Regions from separate parts of the Homo sapiens genome. Here all the other regions are linked to region 1. Evidence: promoter capture Hi-C in 16 types of primary human blood cells and fetal thymus (Javierre and others, 2016). All regions are on one chromosome and are shown on one strand. Each heading gives the region's core, a stretch centred on a gene start or on the middle of the fragment in contact. The rest is flanking DNA. Distances are from core to core; before and after follow the strand shown.

The links. The method cuts DNA at HindIII sites, captures the fragments that hold promoters and counts their contacts. A CHiCAGO score of 5 or more calls a contact.
Region 2: a fragment that was not itself captured here is called in contact with the fragment with the promoter of PPM1M in region 1 in 4 of 17 cell types (M2 macrophages, naive B cells, M0 macrophages and 1 more); the score reaches 5.2 in M2 macrophages.
Region 3: a fragment that was not itself captured here is called in contact with the fragment with the promoter of PPM1M in region 1 in 2 of 17 cell types (non-activated CD4 T cells and endothelial precursors); the score reaches 6.2 in non-activated CD4 T cells.

What each region holds. Positions count from the first base shown.
Region 1 is chr3:52,244,152-52,247,308 of GRCh38, forward strand. PPM1M (protein phosphatase, Mg2+/Mn2+ dependent 1M) reads left to right here and starts at 1,608. Exons shown (of 10, transcript NM_144641.4): 1 at 1,608-1,897; 2 at 2,544-2,661; 3 at 2,823-3,077. The coding sequence starts at 1,674. RefSeq lists silencers at 1,482-1,851, 1,892-1,951. The HindIII fragment of the contact is 3,516 bases long and covers 1-2,387 here.
Region 2 is chr3:52,415,355-52,418,240 of GRCh38, forward strand. All of the region lies in intron 4 of PHF7 (PHD finger protein 7), which reads left to right. Among named protein-coding and RNA genes, the nearest start is that of PHF7, 6.1 kb to the left of the region's middle. The HindIII fragment of the contact is 1,167 bases long and covers 782-1,948 here.
Region 3 is chr3:52,045,739-52,048,877 of GRCh38, forward strand. LOC124906238 (a long non-coding RNA gene) reads left to right here and starts at 491. Exons shown (of 2, transcript XR_007095908.1): 1 at 491-1,584; 2 at 2,081-3,139. RefSeq lists an enhancer at 582-1,781. The HindIII fragment of the contact is 4,073 bases long and covers 1-3,139 here.

The DNA of each region.
Region 1 (3,157 bases), core at 358-2,857:
GTGCCCAGTGTGGCCCCAGCAGACACTGTGGGTTCAGTCAATCAGCCCCCAGGCTGGTCTGGGACTGAGTCATCGGAGGGAGTGGGTGTTGGGCACAGGTCCCTGCCCTAAGAACCTTCCTTCTTGGGCCCGAGGAACTCCCACTGGGGCAGGACTAGCTGCTGGGAGGAAGTAGGGCTTACTGAGCGTCTACCTGGGCTAGGGAGTGGAGGTGAAGGTGGACTCCTCATACAGCTCATATGCAGGCACTGGGCTGTGGAGCCTTAGCCGCTTTTAATTGGCAAGCCCTGGCTTCCTGGAGGAGGAAAGGGGAAGAGAAGTGCCCTGGGGGCGAGGATTGAGTCAGCTGCATTGTCATAATGGAAATAGTACAGCCCTGGGTGTCCAAGACTTCCCCTCCATGGGCCTCAGAATCGTCCATATGATGTAACACTCTTTTTTTTGAGACTGAGTCTCGCTCTGTTGCCCTGGCTGGAGTGCAGTGGCTCCATCTCGGCTCACTGCAACTTCTGCCTCCTGGGTTCAACCGATTCTTGTGCCCCAGCCTTCTGAGTAACTGGGATTACAGGCGCACACCACCACGCTTGGCTAATTTTTAGTACAGACGGGGTTTCACCATGTTGGCCAGGCTGGTCTCGAACTCCTGACCTCAAGTGATCCGCCCGCCTCGGCCTCCCAAAGCACTGGGATTACAGGCGTGAGCCACTGCCTCCGGCCAAAGTAACACTTTTGCACAGGGAGTTGGACTTGAGTGACAAATGGGTGACAAAGTGCTTTGTTAACTCGCAGATGTGAAGGGGACACTGCGGCTGACCGCCTGGTGACAGCTAGCCAGTGGTTGAGAGACCGCAAGATGGTTCCTCGTCTTTCACTTCCCTCCGTCCCAGGTCTGAACTCGGACCAGCTGGAGCCTTTGGGGGACCACGGATTCCCCTTTACACTCACACAGATTTCTCTTGTCCGTCACTCACTCACAGTCCAGTAAGGATCCTGCTGTCTATTCCGCGAAGACATCTTGAATGCAGGGACAGCCATTTGGAAGACTGTCCTCGAGGGTGGCAGCAGCCTCTCAGGACGGGGAAAGCCAAGGTGCCCACTAAGCCCGTCTGGGGTGGAGGGTGGCAGGCCGGGGTGGAGAGGATTGGAGGCCGCCTGAAGGAACCTGTGCTCGGTGGCATTTACTCAATGTGGGGGTCTGACACCTCCCAGCTCATTTTGTCCCCATCTTCCCCTTGCGTCAGGTCCCCACCCAGCAGGAGGAGGTCCGAGGATCTGCGCGACGCTGGCCCCGCGGAGTGTGGGGGACTTTTCCTCTCAACCACCAGTGCCCCGCAAGCGTGGGTGAACAGTCCTCCCTGGCTACTGTGGGACGCTGGGCAGGCGACTTCGCCTCTCTAGGCCTCGGTTTTCCTGCTTGTCAAATGGGGCTGATGCCGGCGTGGGCTTCTTCAGGCGGTCGCGAGCGTTGACCCCTGGAGTCAGCGAACCAGCCGCGCACGCACTCCCGGGCGGAGGTCGGGGCTGGGGGGCGACGCCTCCCGTCTGCGCGCCCCCGGCCCCGCCTCCCGCCGGCGCACCCCTCCCTCGGCTCCGCCCGCGGCCCGCTTCTTCCTCCCGCGGGCGGCCCAGCCCTAGCGCCCCGCGCTCCGCGGGCAGCCCCCTGCCGCCGCGCCATGTCCGCCGGCTGGTTCCGGCGCCGCTTCCTGCCTGGGGAGCCGCTCCCCGCGCCGCGGCCGCCTGGGCCGCATGCCAGCCCCGTGCCCTACCGACGGCCCCGCTTCCTTCGCGGCTCCAGCTCCAGCCCCGGGGCGGCCGACGCCTCGCGCCGCCCAGACTCCCGGCCCGTGCGCAGCCCCGCACGAGGACGCACGCTACCCTGGAATGCAGGCTACGCCGAGTGAGTGCCCCTCCCCGACCCCCAGCTCAGGCCCGGGCCTGAACCCGCTTCGGGTCCTGCGCCCGCCTAGAAAGCGGGAGGAGCTGAGTGACAGTCCCCACCCACCTGTGGACAGCCCCTTCTTGCCCTCACCTCCGAATCCTGACAACTTCCCGGTCATCCCGACCCAGCGTTTTCCTTGGGATTCCGACCTCCCCCTCAGAGAAGACAGGAGGTCGGGAAGGACCTGCAGCCCAGGGGCTTCCAAGATGAGGCCCAGAGACTCGGTAGAGTTCCAGCATTCGGGGCTTTGGAGATTTCCCCTCGCCCTCTACCCCCACCATCTCACCCTGGGTATGACCTGCGCTGTATGGGACAGGGCTTTGGGCTGCGACAGGACAGGGGCAGGAATGGCAACCTACCCTTACCGTCTAGCCCTGGGTCACCAGGTAGGCTCCAGAGGAGCTGGGCCCTGACTTTTACCTTAGCCATGAGGCCAGTGAAGTTAGGAAGCTTACATCGTGGTTGTCTAAGTGTGTGTTAGGGACAGCACTGGGGAGCTGTTGCCCCAGAGGGAGGGGTCTTCTCCCTGTGCTGGCTTGGGTCCCTGTGCCCATGGGGACATAGGTGTGTCCCTGGAGGGTCGCTTACCATTTCCCGGCCTCAGGATTATCAATGCAGAGAAATCTGAATTCAATGAGGATCAAGCCGCCTGTGGGAAGCTGTGCATCCGGAGATGTGAGTTTGGGGCTGAAGAAGAGTGGCTGACCCTGTGCCCAGAGGAGGTGAGTGCAGTCTGAGTTCTTGGCTGGAATCCCTCCGACAGGCTGGGGCCACGACCTGCAGGCTGAGGTTCTTACCCTGCTGCCCCAGGTCCTAGTTAGGTTGCGTCAGGGGACAAGTGGGGAAGTCAGGCAGAGGCTGACACTGAGCCCTTCCTGTGCAGTTCCTGACAGGCCATTACTGGGCACTGTTCGATGGGCACGGCGGTCCTGCAGCAGCCATCTTGGCTGCCAACACCCTGCACTCCTGCTTGCGCCGGCAGCTGGAGGCCGTGGTGGAAGGCTTGGTGGCCACTCAGCCCCCCATGCACCTCAATGGCCGCTGCATCTGCCCCAGTGACCCTCAGTTTGTGGAGGAAAAGGGCATCAGGGCAGAAGACTTGGTGATCGGGGCATTGGAGAGTGCCTTTCAGGAATGTGTGAGTGTGTGGCTTTTGGCTGGGGAAGAAGTGGAGATTTTGCCCCGGGGATCTCAGGAAATGGCATCTCTGTATACCCA
Region 2 (2,886 bases), core at 115-2,614, 170 kb after region 1:
CCTGGCTAATTTTGTATTTTTAGTAGAGACAGGTTTCACCGTGTTAGCCAGGCTGGTCTTGAACAAAATTCACTAATTTTAAGGGTCCAGTTTGATAAGTTTTGATAAATGTATGTCCCCAAATAACCACCACCCCAATCAAAATAGGTAATATTTTCATCACCCCAGAAAGTTCCCTCCTGCCTCCTTTTCCAGTCAATCCCACTAGACGTAATCACTGTTCTGATCTATGGATTATTTTTGGCTATTCTTTTACTTCATATAAGTGAAATCATATAGTTTATAATCTTCTGTATCTGGCTTTTTTCTCCCAACACAGTGTTTTGGAGATTCATCCATGTTGTTGCATGCATTCATAGCTTGTGCCTTTTTATTACTTGGTAGTATTCGGTTGCATGAATAAGTTACTATTTGCTTATCTGTTCACCTGTTGATGAACATCTGAATTGTTTCCATTTGAGGACTATTATGAATAAAGCTACTTTAAGCATTCATGTACAAGTCTCTTTGTGAACATGTGCTTTCACTTCTCTTGTGCAGATGCCTAGAAGTGGAATTACTAGTTGTATGCTAATTAGATATTTAACTTTATGTGAGGTTGCCACATCACTGTCCAAAGCGGTTGTACCAGCTTACACTCCTACCAGCAATTTATAAGAAGTCCAGTTGCACAGTATTCTTGCCGGAACTTTGTTTTGTCAGTGTTCTTAATTTTAGCCATTCTACTGGGTGTGTATTGGTATTTCATTGTCGTTTTAATTTCCATTTTTCTGATGACTAAAGCTTCTTTTCATGTGCATATTGGCCATTCACATATTTTCTTTGGTTTTTTGGTTTTTTTTTTTTTTTGAGATGGAGTCTCGCTCTGTCGCCCAGGCTGGAGTGCAGTGGTATGATCTTGGCTCACTGCAGCCTCCACCTCCCGGGTTGGAGCAATTCTCCTGCATCAGCCTCCCAAGTAGCTGGGACTACAGGTGCCTGTCACCACGCATGGCTAATTTTTATATTTTTAGTAGAGACAGGGTTTCACCGTGTTAGCCAGGATGGTCTCGATCTCTTGACCTCGTGATCTGCCCACCTCGGCCTCCCAAAGTGCTGGGATTACAGGCGTGAGCCACCGCGCCTGGCCCGGCCCACATATTTTCGTTTGTTAAGTATCTGTACAAATATTTTTACCCATTTAAAAACACTGAGTGGTGGTCGGGCACAGTGGCTCACGCCTGTAATCCCAGAACTTTGGGAGGCCGAGGCGAGCAGATCAAGAGGTCAGGAGATGGAGACCATCCTGGCTAACACGGTGAAACCCTGTGTCTACTAAAAATAAAAAAATTAGCCGGGCATGGTGGCAGGCGCCTGTAGTCCCAGCTACTCGGGAGGCTGAGGCAGGAGAATGGCGTGAACCCAGGAAGTGGAGCTTGCAGTGAGCCGAGATCACGCCACTGCACTCCAGCCTGGGCGACAGTGCAAGACTCCGTCTCAAAAAAAAAAAAAAAAAATTGAGTGGTTTTATTATTGAGTTGTAGGAATTGCTTATATATTTCAGATACAAATTCTTTTTCAAATATATGTATTGAGACTATTTTCTTCCTAGTCTTTGGCTTGCCTTTTCATTTTCTTAATGGTGTCTTTCAAAGAACAAGTTTGTAATTGTAATGGAGCCCAGTTTATCCATTTTTTTCTTTTATGGTCAGTGCTTTTTGTGTGTTGCAAGAAATCTTTACCTACCCATAGAATTGCCTTGGTGCCTTTGTCAAAATCAATTGACCATATATCTGTGGATCTGGATAATCTATTTATGTCATTGATCTATGTATCTATTCTTACACAAGTCCCCACTGTCTTGATTATTGTGGCTTTATAGTATATTGAAATTCAGTATTGTTAAGTTCTACAATCTTTTCCAAGATTGTTTTGACTATCAGGTCCTTTCTTTATAAAGTTTATATTAAGCTTGTCAATTTTTCTTTAAAAAAAAAGTCTACTGGGATTGTGATTGGGATTGCATTGAATTTATAGGTCAATTTGGGAAGAATTGACAAAAAATATTGAACCTTCCAATCCATGGACATGGTATATTTTTCCACTTATTTGGGTCTTTTAAAATATATCTCAGCAATGTTTTGTTGTTTTGGTGACAAAGTCTTGTACATCTTTTGTTAAATGTATTCCTAAATATTCTGTGGTTATGCTATTGTAAATAGTATTTTTATTTCATTTTTAAGTTTATTGCTGGTATATAGAAATGCATTTTATTTTTGTATATTGATTTGTATCCTGTAATCTTGTTAAATTGAGTTTGATTAGTTGTTTTTTTATTTTGTTGTAAATGCCTTGTTACAGGATTCCCTATGCACATAACCATGTCATGTGTGAATAAAGACAGTTCTACTTCTTTCTCTCAATCTTTGCCTTTTATTTCTTCTTGCCTTGTTGTATTGGCTAGGACCTTTAACCTAACATTGAATAGAAGTGGTGTGAGTTGTTATCCTTGTCTTGTTCCCAACATCAGGGGACAGCATCTAGTTTTTCACTATTAAAGTATGTTAGCTCTAGGTTTTTTTCATAGATGTTTTTATCAGGTTGAAGATCCCTTTTATTCATATATAGTTTGCCCAGAGTATCATGAATGGGTGTTGAATTTTCTCACTTTTCCTGTATTTATTGAGATTATCTTGATTTTTCTCTTTAATTTTGTTAATGTAGTTTGTTACATCAACTAAATGCTCTAATGTTAAACTAGTCTTGCATTCTTGGTATAAACTCTACTTGGTCATGATGTATTGTCCTTTTTATATGGTGCTGGATTCAGTTTGCATCTGTTTTGATTTTTATATCTGTGCTCATGAGAAAGATTGGTCTGTGATTTTCCTTTCTTGTAAGTCCTAT
Region 3 (3,139 bases), core at 135-2,634, 200 kb before region 1:
AAAGGGATGACTTCACCCAGGACACACCCTGATGAGAGGAGGCTACAGTCACAGGCAGGCGGCTCCTCCATTGCTATGAGACCTGCATGGGCTTGTCTAGTCAGAGGATGGCAAAGCTGTGTGTGTGTGTGTGTGTGTGTGTGTGTGTGTGTGTGTGTGTGTGTGTGTGTGTGTGTGTGTGTGTGTGTCTGGTCCCTCACAGAGCCAGGGCCTAGTGAAAAGCCTCAGGGCAGCAGGGTGGGGGGCCCAGCTTCTACCTTGCCTCACTCTATGACACCCCTCTGCAAACCTCACCTTCCCCATCAGCACAGGGCTGGGAAGCAGAGTGATTCCCGAGCCTTCCCAGGGCTCTCAGGTAGGCTGGGTCTCAGGAGTCAGGTGAGAGCACTGTGTCCTGGTGGGGCCCAAAGAAAGCAGGGGAAAAGATGTCAAGGATCAGGACCTGAACACCCTCCATCGGGGCACCCAGAGGTTAACATGCTACTGTGCTCCCTACAGAGAAAGCTGGCTCCCATATCAGGCCCTCTGGCTTCTGCCAAGGATCTGGGGGTAGGTGTTGGTGTCCCAGACACATCCATTCTGACACAGAGGGAGGTACAGTGCAGTCATGCTGTTGGCCCAGGTGCACAGCACATGGGCAGTAGCAGGGAGGGGCAGGCTCCAGTGCAGGCTTGCCACCTACCCCCACCCTGGTCCATTCATGAGGAATGACTTTCCTCTGGGGAGGGGCCCTGTGGGGGTGGCAGGCAGAGCAGGGCCCTCTCCTGAGGGCTCCCTCTGCCCCCAGGCTCAGAGCGGGACCACCCTAGGGAAATGTTCATCTCTCCTGCGGTCTTGTCGGAACCCCTTCAAGGTCATCGCTCCACAGCACTCCAAGTGCTTCCTCGTATCCAGCCTTAGTCAGTCCTCATGTTGCACTTGATTCATTTATCAGAGGACAAGTTGAGGGCCCCATTATCCTGCCACCCAGTGTGACATCACCGAGCTTCCCTCGGGCATGTTCCCTCCCTGGGACTGCCCAGCCGGCACAGGAAATGGCTGCTGGATGAATGTGCAAGTGAGTAAGTGTCTTGGATCCTCCTCCCATGGGAACACTAAGCGGCTAAGGAGTGGACCAGCTCCCCGGGGTCCAGGCTGAAACGGAGGCAGAAACAGGGACCAAGGAGGCAAACAGGCTCAAGAGAGCAACAGGACTGGGGACAGAGATAAAGCAGGTGCACCCCCAGAGAGCCAAGTGTCCAAGAGCTCAGGACGGCTGCGCTGAGGGCCTCAGCCACAGATGGCCTGAAGCAAGCAGGGCCCGCTGGGGAGAGCATGGCAGAAACGGGGTGGGATAGGAGGAGCTCAGGACACGGGGCCATGAGATGGGAGCCCAAAACCCAGGGGTGGGGGACCACAGTCCAGTAAGCGTGGCCCGGCCCAAGGTCACAGAGCAAGGACCCAGGGCCCCAGCCTCTCAGCCATGACCTGGCCCTCTGTCCCCCAGCAGGGAACCTTAGCCAGGCCCAGTGCTGAGGTAGGAATTTCTACAGGTAAGGAGGACACAGACGGTCAGAGAGACCACTGGCCCCAGAGTGCACAGGGGTAAGTGGCGGGGCTGGCCCTCTTCAGGCAGTCCCAGTCCTCCGTCTGAAGAGCCGGCTCAGGAGGCGGCTGCCACTCCCACCCCCACCCCGTCCTGTGCTTGGGCACGCTGGCACTGCCAGGCACTTACTCGGTTTGTCGAGGGCCCAGCCCCCAGCCCAGCACCCGCGGGCTTCCCCAGGCCTGGGCGAGGGCAGCAGGAGGGAACAAAGGCCCAGTCTCTGCCTGCTCAGGCCCCCACCCCCTTTGCCTGCCCCTGGCACAGAAGGAACAGGGCCCTGAGGGAGCCCAGGAGCAACAGCAGCACCGCCCCCTTGTCGAGGATGCAGCAAGAAGCCCCCTCCTACCCACAGAGGCCTGCCGGCTGAGCGGCAGGATTCTTCCACGCTCCACATGGGAGTGTTAGGGGGTAGAACTGAGGGACTGCAGTCACACAGCTGAGATTTGCACCCAGGCCCCACAGTGGGCAGAACCTGCCCTCTACCCCTCTCCACAGGCTGCGCATGATGGTTGTGACTGCGTTCTGGTGCAGACTAACTGAAGAGCAGAGATGAGGGAGAGAAGAGAAGGAGAGCCTTGGGCACCCCAACAGAGCAAGTCCCAGGCTGAGCCGCCCTCACCCTCTCGGCCCTACCTACCTACCTTCCACCTGGATCCAGCTCAGTGCTGATCACACAGTTTGCTGAAGGGATAGAGCTGGGGAATGTCAGAAATGGGGAAACTGAGTCAGCTTCCAGGCCTCTTAAGTCCTTGACTGGGGCTCACCTGATCCAGCCAGAGGCAAGGGAGACCTAAGCCACTCTGGAGCCTCCATTTCCTGATCTGTAACTCGGGGCTTGTTGTCCACTGGGGCCTCACTTCCCCAGACTGTGGCCCCCATCCTTCTCCAGACCTCCTCCCTGCTCTAGCCCAGGGCCTCGCTTAGACCCCCACCCCCAGGGGAGCCTTGACAGAGGCCCATGCCCACCCTTCCTTGTACACGCCTGAGCACGGCTGATTCCTCCCTGTGAGCCCAGGCCAATAATGTGCTCTTCATGCCACAAAGCTGAAAAGCACTCAGGAACCAGGTGCAATCGGCCTAAGGGACCTGTCCAAGGCCACCCAGCCCTTAAGAAGCAAAGAAGGGCTGACCTGTCACTACCCACTGATATCTCAGGACCTGCAGGGGCAGGGTTAAATGCACATTCCCCTCTCACCCACACGGCAGCAAGAGAAAGAGTTAGGGTCCTGGGGGCTGCAATCTGGGCAATGCCTAAGCAGACAGCCTCAGACAATGAAGGGCGAGTCAGGACTCAGTTGTGTCAACTTGGTATATACAACCTCTCCAAGCCTTGATTTCAGCAGAAGCCCACAGAGAAAGCCCTGATGCCTCTGCCTGCCAGTGCCTAAGGGCTGGGGAAATGCCACCTGCCCCAGCTTCATCCAGAAACTGTGGCTGCTCCCTCCCATCTGCGGGGCACCTTGATTAGTCTAAGTGGCCAGCAGACCCCAAGCAGAACCAGGCCAGTGCCTCACACAGAGCAGGCACTAGGATGCCTGTCGACAGCACTCCTTC